Linked DNA regions of Homo sapiens: region 2 is linked to region 1. Evidence: promoter capture Hi-C in human tissues and cell types (Jung and others, 2019). All regions are on one chromosome and are shown on one strand. The core of a region is centred on a gene start or on the middle of the fragment in contact, and the rest is flanking DNA. Distances in the headings are between cores, read along the strand shown. Region 1 holds the start of SPRY4 (sprouty RTK signaling antagonist 4). Region 2 overlaps LOC105378204 (a long non-coding RNA gene).

Evidence for each region. The method cuts DNA at HindIII sites, captures the fragments that hold promoters and counts their contacts. A contact is called where the count stands out against the background at its distance.
Region 2: a contact is called between a fragment that was not itself captured here and the fragment with the promoter of SPRY4 in region 1, in 1 of the 25 tissues and cell types used here (small bowel).

The regions. Positions count from the first base shown.
Region 1 is chr5:142,319,674-142,326,486 of GRCh38, reverse strand. It overlaps SPRY4 (sprouty RTK signaling antagonist 4), which reads left to right and starts at 1,466. Exons shown (of 2, transcript NM_001127496.3): 1 at 1,466-1,643. It overlaps SPRY4-AS1 (SPRY4 antisense RNA 1), which reads right to left and starts at 1,194. Exons shown (of 4, transcript NR_120664.1): 1 at 1,117-1,194. RefSeq lists enhancers at 2,000-2,059, 1,541-2,503, 2,504-3,468, 6,151-6,813. The HindIII fragment of the contact is 10,639 bases long and covers 1-6,430 here.
Region 2 is chr5:142,086,495-142,093,080 of GRCh38, reverse strand. It overlaps LOC105378204 (a long non-coding RNA gene), which reads left to right. Exons shown (of 3, transcript XR_944368.3): 3 at 4,286-4,417. Among named protein-coding and RNA genes, the nearest start is that of NDFIP1, 19 kb to the left of the region's middle. The HindIII fragment of the contact is 8,153 bases long and covers 564-6,586 here.

The sequences.
Region 1 (6,813 bases), core at 217-2,716:
AAAGACTGCCACACAATCTCCCCGTGCGGCCAGAACAGCGGCAAGACAGACCTTACAAGGGACTCAGGGCCAAGCCCTGGCCCAGACTCTGCTCTTATCCACGCATCAAAGCCACCCCCCGCCCCGGACTTCCCGGAGGCTACAGGCTCCTCCGTTCCAGGGAGGAGCAGGGCCTGCTGCGAGGGCTCCCCGCCTTCCTGGAGTCAGGCCTAATGGCGGGGGCTTTTCTTTTCACCGGCTTGAGCTGATCCTCACCCCCGCCCCCCAACGCCACCATCATTAACAGCGAAGAAAGGATCCCCAGCCATTTCCATTTCCTCTGCGGCTCAAGAGCCCCGTTGTTATTTAATCCTGAGGCCACCCCGGCAGCATCCTCGGCGCAGCCGGCTCCACCCATCCACCTGGCCAGTTCTCGGCCGCTCCCACTTCCCCGGAGGGGAGGCCGGTGAGAGGTGGGGGATATTGGGGAAAGGCGCCTACAACAGCGAAGGGCCGTGGGCCTTCGGTGGACCGAGGCTCCTCAGGCCAGCGTCCTGTGAGGGCTGGGAAACCGACTGGGACAGAGAAAGGACACCTAGCTAGGGCGACAGAGAGCGGGCAGACGCCCGGGCACTGCGGACATTGCACTGGGGCGGGGGGCGGGGGGAACGCTGGGAGGCGAGGGCCAGGCTTCCTCTGGCTGAGTTGCCAGAATCGCCCCGGGGGGTACTGGAGCCGGAAGAGGCCTGGGCCCAGTCACTGTCTACACCCAAGAAATGGGGGGAGGGGCGGCCAGCACTCACGAGAGATTCAGCCTCAGGAAAAAGAACCAGATTCACTCACCAATCCTCACCCCACCCTTTGATATGAATGATGGACATTTTCCTAATTTTTGGTAAACGCAGCTTCAAGACCCCTCCCGCCTGGCGTCTCTGGTCTAGAGCAAGAGAAGGCCCCCAGTAGGGGTCCTCCCGCCCCCCCTTTTGACTGCCTGCGGGGGGCAGAGATCCCCAGATCTAGGTGTGCCCTCCACCACCCTGCTCTCAACCCGGGATCCGGAGGCCGCAGCGTCCCCCACCCCCCAGCGACACTGACGGTTCCTGCCCAGGCCCGCAGTGGCGTGAAGGTGGCCTTTACCTCCTCTCGCAGGCTGGGAGGGGGTGCAGCCCGCGCAGCTGGCCCAGCTGCAGCAGTCGCCGCCGCCCTCCATTCATTAAAAAAAAAAAAAAAAAGGCAACAACAGCCTCCACTGGAACCTCCACCCCTCTTTGTAAAAGAACGACGGCTCCTGGTGGAGCTTGAGCCAGTCCCAGCAATCACGGGTTAAGATCTTTTCCCGCCCCCCATTCATAAAAAAAGGAGCGGAGCGCATGCGCGCTCAGGGTCTGTTGTGCCCACCCATTCATAGAATCGCGAACGGCACGCGTGCGCACTGGCGCTCCCTTCCCTCCCATTCATAAAAAAGCCATTTTCCCAGGCAGTGGTTGCAACATCGCCGCGGAGGTAGCGAGCTGAGCTGACAGCGCGGAGCTGGCGCTGTGGAGCGCAGGGAGCCTTGCCGGTTCCTCCGACCGGCGTCTGCGAGTACAGCGGCGGCTAACCTGCCCCGGCTTCAGGATTTACACAGACGTGGGGCGATGCTTGTGACCCTGCAGCTCCTCAAAGTAAGTCCATGGCTGGTTTGGAGATCTGAAACTGCCCCTCTCTGAGCCGCGACGCGACTCCCCCCTTGGGCTGGGGCAAATGGTGCGCTATTTCTAGGCGCGCCTCAGTGTTCCTTCCCTCAGCCTGCGCCTCCTTGAGTCGCTGCGGTGCGCCGCAGCTCCCTGACGCCCTCGGCCCGGCCGGCACGGCGCCGGGGGTGTTCACAGCCTGGCACCGCCGTTTCCGACCCCTGGGCATTGCCAAGCCCGGCTTCCCCGCCCTCTGAGACTCGGGAAGCCCCGTGCGTGTCCCGGGAGTTTGCCTCTGGCCTGGCCTCTTTCCTTCTCCTGCCACCATCCGCCTCGAACGCTGGAACGGGCGTCTCTGGGCTTGGTCAGGAGCCACCGTTTGGGTCGGGGGGCGCCCTCGCTCTGGGCGGCTCGCCCACCTCCCAGCTCGGTGCCCACGGTGCCAGCTTTGCCGTGTATCTCCCAGCCCGCCGTAGCGGCCTATGCTCGACGTAGATTTTTTCTTTCTCTTCGGAGCCGTGACGGACTGAATTCCCTCCCCTTCTGCCTCTCCCTCGATGGTCAGCGAGGGGCTGGCTCAGGACTGGGCATTCCTACTCCCTCTCCTTGGCGAGGCGGTTCCTCGCCGTCTGACCTTTGCTCCGCTGCCGCATTTTATGCTATGCAACTGCCTTGCAGTTGACTTTTTCTTGCCTGGCCTCTGTAAGGCCTGAGGCTCCTCGGCCACCCTGTACCTCCCTATCCTCGGGCACCGAGCTGTGCCAGGCCCCGGAGCCCCCAGGCCGCGCTAGGGCTGCGGTGGGGGTTGAAGGTGCGTTTACATAACACCAGGCGTGTGGGAGCTGGAGGAAGAGGTTGCGAATGTAGGAGAGATAAGGCTCCTGCTTTCCCTCCTTCCTTCTTGGTGGTACCAGGCTTGACATCACAGAGAAGAGGATAGAGACGGTATGTTCTGACAAATTCTGAATCGCCAAGACCCCGGGGACAGTGAGCTGGGTGAGGGCGGGTTTGGCTAGCCAGGGCAGCTAGAGCTTGGCTCCATCACTGGGTCCAGGGCTGTGCCCAGTTCCCCCTCCATGCAGACGATCAAAAAGCATTTAGACAGTAGCTGCTCTTGTGCAAGAAGACGGTTTCTCAATTCTCCTTGATTGGGGGCAGGGGGTTGTGGGCAGGAGAGGCAGGGGAGACAGAAAATGGTTGCGTGGCTTATAGGGCTGAAGGATGGGCAAGAGAGGCGAAATGGGCTGGAGGGGCTAGATGGTAGGCAGAGTAGGGAGCTGCTGGCTGCCTCTTTCACCAGCTGCTGGAGGGGCATCCATATTGCCAAGGCCTCTGTGAGGGCAGGAGGCCGCCTTCTGGCGCAGCAAGGCTTCCGTACCCCCCAGCGCGGTTAGTGCTGGAAAGAAGAGTGTACAGTGGGGTGCCCAAACCTAGTGGCATCCCCTTCTTTCCTGCCTCCAAATCAGTGGCGTGATTCTCTCCAGTTTTGGGAGAGGCCAGACACACTGGAGGCCAAAGAACTTGCAGAGGGGCGGGAGCAAGCACTCGTCTGTGTCTGTAGCTGACCGAGGCACTAACCTCCCTGACAAGTCTCTCGGGATTCAAAGCTGGAAGGTATAAGGCTCAGAGAAGTTGGGAACTGCGGGTTTATCAATCTCTTAATGAGCTCAGTCTGGCCTGAGGCCCTACCCAATATTGCACTGGTGGATTTCACAATGTTTGGAGTTCTCCAGATCTTCACACAAATGGAGCATAAACATCTCTGAAATTTTCAGCCTTTTTTTTTTTTTTTTTAGGGCGGGTGTCAGGAGAGCTAGGAGAGGCAGGGCTGCAGTTAAAGATTTCTCTTTCTCTCTCCCTCTCTGTCTCCCAGAAGGGTGGGAAAGAACTAGTGGAGATGTCCAGTGTGAAATCACATTTCCTCTTTCCCATCTCTTGGGAGGGTTCTCACGTGCTGCGAGGCTCCAGCAAATCCTAATGTGGTGAACAGCACACACACTTACCAACCACGCCATGTGGCCAGTACGGGTGTAGGGTGGGGATTTTAGTAGCAGATTTCTGAAATCTTCATGGACAAATATTGGTCAGTTACAGTGAGCAGACTTTAAAGGCATCTGTTGGTTATCAGGAGTCACTCCCTTTCAGTGGAGTGTAAATGCCCTCTTGCCCTTAGCCCTCCTGCCCAGCTCCATGACCTTTTCCAGATCACCCTCTGAAATGGCCTCATCTCACTGAAGCTTTAGTTGGGGGCTGGTGGGAGGAGACAGAACACATAGTAGGGCAGAGGCTGTGGACAGGTGGACATTTGGAGCTTACGGATGTCGTTTTCATTTATATATATATATATATATTTTTTTTTTTTCTTGAGACGAGTCTTGCTCTGTGACCCAGGCTGGAGTGCAGTTGCGCGATCTTGGCTCACTGCAACCTCCGCCTCCCAGGTTCAAATGATGCTCCTGCCTCAGCCTCCCAAGTAGCTGGAATTACAGGTGTGTGCCACCACACCCAGCTAATTTTTGTATTTTTAGTAGAGACAGGGTTTCACCATGTTGGCTAGGCTGGTCTCGAACTCCTAAGCTCATGATCCGCCGGCCTCTGCCTCCCCTGGGATTACAGGCGTGAGCCACCACGCCCGGCCTCATATGTCATTTTTATCTGCATCCTCCCAGAATTGGCGGAGAGATGTGGCTCTTTGGAAATCTGTCCTGCCCAGTTCGCACCCACCCATGACCCCAGCCCCAACTTTGGTAAACCAGAGGTTTGGCTGACTTTCGTGAATAATAAATGAAAGCAGCCTTTCAGTGCCAAATTTGAAAATCAGTGATATAAAAGTTAAGAGAGGAATAAAACCCATTAATACTTACAGAAGTGACCCTTGAGCTGTGTTGCTCTGGGATTTAATACTTTGGGACCATATGTGGGGATTCCAGTTTACAGGGCTGAATGTCTTGTTGTTTGACATCTTCTAGCTCCAAGATTTGTGCCCCCACAGTGTGTTTTTCTGTCCTTGGGCTATCCTGTTGATGAGGGCCTGGGTGTTGGTGCAAAGGAGGCCTAGGAAGGAGCCCTCCCTCTTTATTCAGAAAAGTCCAGTGTTTCTTGGAGAATCATAGTGTTCCATTTGGTTCTAAATCCACAGTGTTTGTCATCTGGCCTCTACTTAGGTGGCAGTTCCCTTGTGATGACAACCTGGCTAAGGATTCTCGCCCAGGCCTCTGAATTTGGAGACAAAGTTGAAAATTTGGGGTTTTGAATGTAGACATGACAGAGTTTTTAAGGAAGGGAAATGGCTAGAGTGGAGAAGGTTCTATCTCAGGGCCGACCTTATCTCCCTGAAAGGAGAAAGCAGTGACTCATTAGAATATGTTTTTGCTCTTTCAAAAGAGCCAGGGGTAGGTGAACAACTTTCAGAAAGCTGTATTGTCCCTTCCAGACCAAGCCAGGGGCTAGAACAGAGCAGATGTGTGACTAGGCAAACCTGCTAAGCATGGCCTTAGCTTCCCCATCTGCACAGTAGAGAAAATAAACTCTTCCCAAGGGGACAGAGGCCAGCAGAGCTGCTAGTGAGCGGCCAGGACTAGGGCCATGCTCATGGTTATTATTGGGCTCCTAGGAGGAGGGCCTAGTTTTAAGGGTGCCCCTTTCCTGCACAGGAGGTGTGGGGTGTTGCGTGATGTAAGAGGGAGGGTATTCTTGGCTCTCGGGGTCTGGGGCCACCCTGCAGATCCGGACAGCTGACAAGGCTGGGGAATGTATCCGGGACATGTGGCTGGGCTTAAGAGGCTCCACAGTTCAGCTGTGATCATGATTGTTCTTTCCAAGGACAGGCCCCAGTCAGTGAAGGAAGCAAGGGCACAGGGGAGGGAGCACAGATGTGCTGGATCTGGCGGAGAAGGGAAGGGGCCCTTCGGGGCAGGTGGCCACTTGCAGAAGAGTGGTTTCCCTTGTCAGTAGTCTTTTTTTGGTTGGGGGAAGGGGAAGTCATTTCCTGCTCCTGTCCCAGGAGTAAGCTAAAATCTATTATTGTAAGTTCATTTCTTGGTGGAGGGTAAGAAGACAAATAATAAGATCTTAGTGTCTGTGGGAGGAAGCCCTGCCCTAGGAGTCTAGGGTTCTGGTCCCACCCAGACCTGGACTTGGCCAGTAGTTCCCAAACTATGCCAGTGGTTAACAGGCTCCTTCTGACTCCTTCTTTACTGACTCTTGGCTTCTAATCCTTCTTTATGGGAATCTGAGCAGACAATTAAGGCGGTAATACAGTGAAGCAGAAACTCGAAGCTGATTAAATAGCCCAAAGCCCAAAGTCCAGCAAGATTCCCACCCTTCCGTGTGCTGGGGCTTTGGAGCTCAGCTGATTGGCTGTGAAAGAGAGAAGAGAAGAGGGTTGGGAATCGGTAATGTGGTGGGATGAAGTGATGAAAAACAACCGTTTTTTTTTTGTGATCTCTGACAGATTGTGGCCAGAGGTGAGCTTCTTAGTGCTGGTGCTGGGGGTAGGGAGGTGGGGGAAGGAAGAAAGATTCATAGACAAATCCAGCTGCCCAAATGCTTTATTCTTCCACTGGGGCCATTCTCAGCAGAGATTGTCTTTCTTTGCAGGGTATAGGGAGGGGCAAGTCCTCTGCTTCCCTCAGCATCCCTCCCCCTCTTTTTAAAGTCCTTTTAAAGCAATAAGTCATTATTTGGTTGTAGCTTAATTAGCTAAACTGGAATAGTGTCACAAAGAACCAAGCAATAGTGGTGGGCAGGCTCTCTGGCAGCCTAGAGACCTTTATTCTGAGTTGTTTAAAGGGTTAAACAGCCTTCACTGAAAGAACCCGCTGAGACTGAATGGGGCAGTGCTTAAACTACCCATTCATTCACAGCCTCTTGCCAGTTTGTCATTAGCTGACCTGTAGCTTTCAAAGTACAACTGTCAGGTTTTCCCAATATTTCCCAACTCACCTCCCTAGGGTAAGTCAAGGGGAGGGTGTGGGTGGGTGGGATTAGGCATCCTGCTCAATTGTGCGGACATTTAACATGCCTCTTGATTCTTTTCAGCCAGCCTGTATTGAGCGGTTTGCAGCCTGATGCTCAGCCCCCTCCCCACAGGTACAAATGCAGTGAGTGTCAGACTGGCTGGTTCTGGGCTCCCAGACCCGCCAAGCAGCAAATACAGTGT
Region 2 (6,586 bases), core at 3,391-5,890, 240 kb after region 1:
TTTTTTTTTCTTTTTTAGGCTTAGGAAGGTCTTCACCCCCAAAATCACAAAAATACTTAGCTCTATTTTCCTTAGTGTTTTTATGGTTTCTTTTTTACACGGACATATCTGATCAAGTAATTTATTTAGGGGTAAGGAAGCTAGTAATCCAGATTTTTTTTTTTTAATGGTTAGCTGGATTCCATACCATTTGTTAAATGACCATTTTAAAAGTCTCCTTTATTTCTGGAATCCCACCTTTTTTCTTTTCTTTCTTTCCTTTTTTTTTTTTTTTTTTTTTTTTTTTTTGAGAAGAAGTCTTGCTTTGTTGCCCAGGCTGGAGTACAGTGACACAATCTCAGCTCACTGCAACCTCTGCCTTCCAGGTTCAAGCGATTCTCCTGCCTCAGCACCCCCACCCCCTCCCAGTAGCTGGGACTACAGGCGCGTGCCACCATGCCCGGCTAATTTTTGTATTTTTAGTAGCAACGCGGTTTCATCATGTTGCCTAGGCTGGTCTCAAACTTCTGACCTCAAGTGATACACCCACCTCAGCCTCCCAAAGTGCTGAGATTACAGGCGTGAGCCACTGTGCTTGGCCCCCCACTTCTTTTTCACTCACCTCTCCATATGTTTATTAGTGTCCTGTTTTTTAGAAGACAATTCACAAAGACTTCAACATACAAACTAGATAACGTAAGGAAATAGAACTGTTCAGGCTACAGATAGTAAGCTGTCCTAATTACCCCTGAAATTATTCAATTTTTTAAAAGCTGAAATTTTTACATATTCTTATATCAGCTTTATTAACATATAATTCGTATACCATACAATTCACTCACTTAAAATATACAATTCAGTGGCTTTAAATATATTCACAGTTGTGTAACCTTCACCACAATCAATTTTAGAACTATTAAAAGACAGCAGGTCCAACATGGTGTCACTCATGCTAAGGTTCTATGCCACCAAACTGAAACCTAAGTTGTTTATTTATAAGATTTGACCTTCTGAGAAACCAGGAGAAAGGCAATGGCCAAATCCCATAAAGCCAACAGGATTTCCTATACACCTCTACAAGGAAAGTAATCTTGAAATGATTAACATACTGTTGGTTCATTGTTTCTTCTTTCCTGCATTTTTTTCTACGTGTGAAATTCACCCATTCTGTGTAGCTTGTGAGAGCTCTTTTCTGTGTTTTACTTTATTTATTTATTTATTGAAACAGGGTCTTTTTTGCCCAGGCTGGAATGCAGTGGCATGATATAGTTCCCTGTAGTCTCAAACTCGTGAGCTCAAGTGATCCTCCAGCTTTAGTGTCCTGAGTAGCCAGGACTATAGATACATGCTGCCATACCTACATGGCTGGCTAATTGTTTTGGTGGCAGTGCGGGGGCGTGGGCTGTTGCTTTGTTTGTTGCTCAGGCTGGTCTTGAACTCTTGGCCTCAAGCAATCCTCCCACCTCAGCCTCCCAAAGCACAGGGAGTATAAGTGTGAGCCACCATGCCCAGCCTTCTTTGTTTTAGACTGGATGCTGCTCAGTTCATGAATTACTAATAAAAGCCAATTAGATCTTTAAAATTAAATTTGTTGAAATTTTGTTCTTTGACGGAACATTTCCATCACCCCACAAAGAACATTTCATATACATGGAATCATACAATATGCAGCCTTTTGTATCTGGCTTCTCTCACTTAGGATGTTTTCAAAATTCATCTACAGTACAGTATATATCCACATTTAATTTCTTTCTTTTTTTAAATTGAGGTAAGGTTCATATACCATGAAATTAATCATTTTAAAGTGTTTAATTCAGTGCCATTTAGCACCTTCATTATGTTGTGCAATCATCACCTCTATCTAATTCCAAAGCATTTTCATCATCCAAAAAACAAAACATATGTTCATTAAGCAGTCACTCCCCATTCCTCCCCTCCAGCCCCTGGCAACCACTAATCTACTTTCTGTCTCTATGTGGGTTTGCATGTTTTGGACATTTCATGTAAACGGGATTACATAGTATGTAACCTTTTGTGACTAGATTCTTTCATTTAGCATGTTTTCCAAGTTCATTCATATTATAGCATGTAGATATACTTCATTTCTTCTTATTGTCAAATATTCTTTTCTATGGATATACCACACTTTGTTTATTCATTCATCAGTTGATGGACATTTTCATCATTTACACTTTTGCCTACTATGAATAATGCTGCTATGAACCTTCTTGTACAAGTTTTTACGTATACTATATACTTCTCTTAAAAATAACTTTATGTTTTGCATAAAATCATATACTTATCTGCAGTATCAGTCCTGTAAGCCATCTTTTCAGGATGATTAAAAAGTTTATTTGCCCACAACCTTCTTTTATTTTTTTGAGACGGAGTCTCATTCTGTCGCCCAGGCTAGATTGCAGTGGCACGATCACGGCTCACTGCAACCTCCATCTCCCGGGTTCAAGTGATTCTCCTGCCTCAGCCTCCTGAGTAGCTGGGATTACAGGCATGCGCCACCATGCCTGGCTAATTTTTTTGTACTTTTAGTAGAGATGGGGTTTCACCACGTTGGCCATGGCTGGTCTTGAACTCCTGACCTCAAGTGATCCACCCACCTCAGCCTCCCAAAATGCTGGGACTACCAGCGTGAGTCACCAAGCCAGGCCACAACCTTGTTTCTTTAAAGCCAAATGTAATTTCATTTGTGAAGGCCTTAATCCTATTAGTCTATGCTAATTTAAACCACCAAGGAGAAAACTAAATTAAGAAATTTAAGCTGGGCATGGTGGCTTACGCCTATAATCCCAGCACTTTGGGAGATTGAGGCAGGAGGATCTTTTGCGTCCAAAAGTTCGAGACCAGCCTGGGCAACATAGTGGGACCCTGTCTCTATAACAAAGAAAAAAAAAAGAAATTTAAGAATTTAGTTAAAACTGTAATCTGGGGGAATTATATCTAGGTGGGTGCTCAGAAGGACCCAATGACGATGGAAGTGATGCTCAAGCAACTCTATTCATGTCTTTCTTTATGTACTAGGGGCAACTCCATTCATTTATTTATGTACTTGAGGTTCAATTTTTAATATTAACATAAACATCTAATAGAGTTTGCCTATGAATCCTGCCATTAACAGGATTGCAACATACGTGGTTCAGTAAAATCAAAGAAGCAAAACACAGGACGAAGTTTTTTAAGGGACCCAGTCCCCCACTAGATTCTAAGTTCTTGAGAGCAAAGATTGCATCTTGTTTGTGGTGGGCACACCAGAAATATTTGTTCAACAAAAAAATAAGGAAAGCTGTGTCCAGAATCAGATTTCCTAGCCTTTGCCCCACCCACTCACTCCCACCCTATTGTTTGCTCTTTCCCCAGACCCCAGTTCCACCTAATTCCAAGGGACAAGATAGAGTCTCAGATCACAATGTATCGAAGGCAGGTGTAGTTGGAAGATGGTATTTATCTTTGTGGGGAAGGAAGGGAGTAGCATCAACAATGGAAAACCAAATGATCTTGTTCCTTCCTGTGCACCTCATTTGCCAGTTTTGGAGAGACAGCAATTTTTTTAATACCTTGAAACACTGGAGTTTGTATTGAGAAACAAAAGAAAAAAGCTCAAAGGTGGCTGTGGAGGTCTCTATCCCTCCTTCCAAGGCTCACTGACCCCTCGATGACCTGTAACTGTAGCTCTGGGAGAAACGAATAAGCAGGCGGTTCAATGCTGCTATTTTAGGCAGTTAGTCGATGTGGGCGGTTAGTCTGGTTAGTCGATGTGGGCGGCAGACACTGGGGTTGGTGTGTTGGGAGAAGGGCTTGAGGGGTGCCTGTATAAACTGGCCATAAAAATATGGGACAATAAGTTGTGGAAAGCCACAAGAGGCCTCTGAGGAGGAAAGCCTAATTGCCATCATGTTCCCATGCTCAGGGCAAGACCCGCTCTCTTATCTGTAAACACTGTGTTCAAGGAGAAAGACACTCCTTTGAAGCATTGGAATGTAGACAGACGTGCAGGCTCCTAGTTAAGCCCGCTCCCACTAGCTACTCTCCGATAAGTTAAAGATACGCAGTTTGAGCACAAAGGAGATTCATTTAAACCGCTATTGCTATAGATTATGCCTATGACGCACTGCCTCCCTTTCACTGTTTCGCACTGAACATCTGCTTCTTAGATCTAAGTGATGGTAATCAATAGTGTGTAGACCAGAGCTCTGGGCCTTTGCAGTCTCTGATTTGCTCTGGCCCCCTGGCTCCCACTTTTATGAACTCTAAACCTGTCTCTTCTCATTCCTTTGTCGCCACTGGACTTCAGGTACCCTACGGGTGGTGTTGAGGCTGGTCCCCAACATTGGTGGAAGAAGCACCTTTATGGACCAGACAGCCATGTACTCGGTCAGCCCCACTGCAGATACGCCGGAAGGAGGTCCAAAAGCCGTTTTCAGGGAGAGGACTCTTTGCCCCTTGTTAGTTAAACCTTGGCAGACATGCTGGGCAGGAATGACATACCCTATGTGTAAGTACCTGGAAAACCCCACGGTGCTCCCACACACTCAACCGGAAGCAGCATTTTCAGATCTGCTCGTGCTGGTTCTTCTGCATTAGTTGATAGTCAGTTTAGATTTCAGATGTCACTGTCCCTGAAGGGCCTCCCCTGGTGCCTCATAAAGGCCAAGAGACCACAAAAGTTGAATGGCCAAGCCAGGCTGGCACGACGCAGTGCCCTAGCTATCTCCTTTTCTGCTGCAGAAGCGCACTACCGGTGACGGGCAGTAGTGAGTGGGAGGGCCACCATCTGAAATGTGCTGCTCCTTTTGATGAGTGGGTACTGTGTTTTTCTCTGCTTTTAGCTCCTATTCTGAAGAAATGATAGTGATTTTCACCCCATCCCCGATCAAACAGGACTGTGACTTACGTTTCCCAGTGTTCATTGCTAATTTCATGCACCATTAAGTTTTGTAGTCTCCCATGTCCATTAGACCTTGCTTCTCCCTCTGGGATGTTGGGACATTGTGGGGAGCATATTGTGATATGTTGGCATGCTGGGGTGGGGGAGGCCACAGCTGACTTGGGAGAACTTGTCCCTTGGTGACACCCACCCACACTGAGCTTGAACTTCAGACAAGGGAAATTGACTCTTACTCCACTCCCCACCCTCACCCCATGGCAGCCTGGCTCACCAACCACAGCGAAGCCGGACTTGGCCTCTTGGTTCTTCTCAACACAGCTCCCCAGTCAGACACCACCAACTGAACTGAATTGGCACTATTTGGTAGTCTAGCCTGACTTATAATAACAATTGAAAAAGAAAAGATAAATCTGTCCTCCAAACTGGATTCAGTTATCACACTATTGCTCGGATCTATTGTATCACTTGGAGCCCTGCGCTTACAGTGCTATTCTGTGAATTTCTTCTAACAACAAGAGTCTATAAGGTGAGAGGGCCCCTTGTTCTTTCAAAGAGAAAGGAAATGTCTCTTAAAGCATCATTTAAACTTAAATTTTAATGTTGTTTAAGCATGGAGAAGTACAGAGAAGAAAACATTTGATGACCCACATTCTTATTGCCCAGCTCACTCCTGACTGTATTAGATAATAATTATGACATTATAATAGTTACACATGCATACGAGTAGAAATTTTAAACATGAAAGCATAACACGACAAGTGCTAACTTCTATTCCTTCCTTCCTAATGATAACAGCTATTGATTATTAATAGTTTTTCATGGGTTCTACCAGAAAAAGTACATGTATGTTTATATTCTTTTCTAAAAGTTACCAAAAAGGGGGAAAAGGGTGAAGCGTACTCTACAATATGTTCTGCAGCTTGGTTTTTTTTCTTCTAACTGAATTATACAACTGGCATTCTTTCCTGATCCACCTCATTCATTCATTCACATGGTCTTCCAGCATATGGATGTGCCATAATCCATAATATGGATGTACCATAACTTAATCAGTACTCTGTTAATGGTAAAACATCTTTTGAAGACTTCAGGGGGCTCATTGACCCACTTGAACTGTTATTCATCAACAAAGGAGGAAGGACACCTATTTCATTCATTCACTCAAAATCCTGCAGCTCTAAAGATTATTCAACTTGGTCCACAACTTCTGGCAAATACAACTACAAAGGAAAGCATCAGCAGAGCTGGGGCTGGGGTGTGGTATGAATAAAGTCATTTGCAATGCACCAGAATAAAGATCCCTTGCAATGATCACGAGCTGTAAGCACTGACAGTCCTAGAAGACTTGGTCATGTGATAGACCAGGTAGCATTGCCCGGAGTAACATGAAGGCAGCATTGCTTCACACAGAGACTTCAAACTAACAGTGTCTCCCAGAAGCCTTACAGCACTGAAAATGCTTCACTGTATTTTATTCATAATGGATATATTCACTATAGATGCTGAGTCTGCTAAGCCAGCTGTGTTTTCCTGTCACCAAGATGCCTTGATGCCATCTTAATATACACATATTTAAAAATTCTCCATGGAAGAACATCTTTACTTTGTCTAACTCTAATTGTGCCAGGGAATTGAAGTAGTCAGTTCAGATAATGCTGAAACTTATTGACTACTTGTTAGTTCTGTGTCCTGGAGCCTGTGATCTAA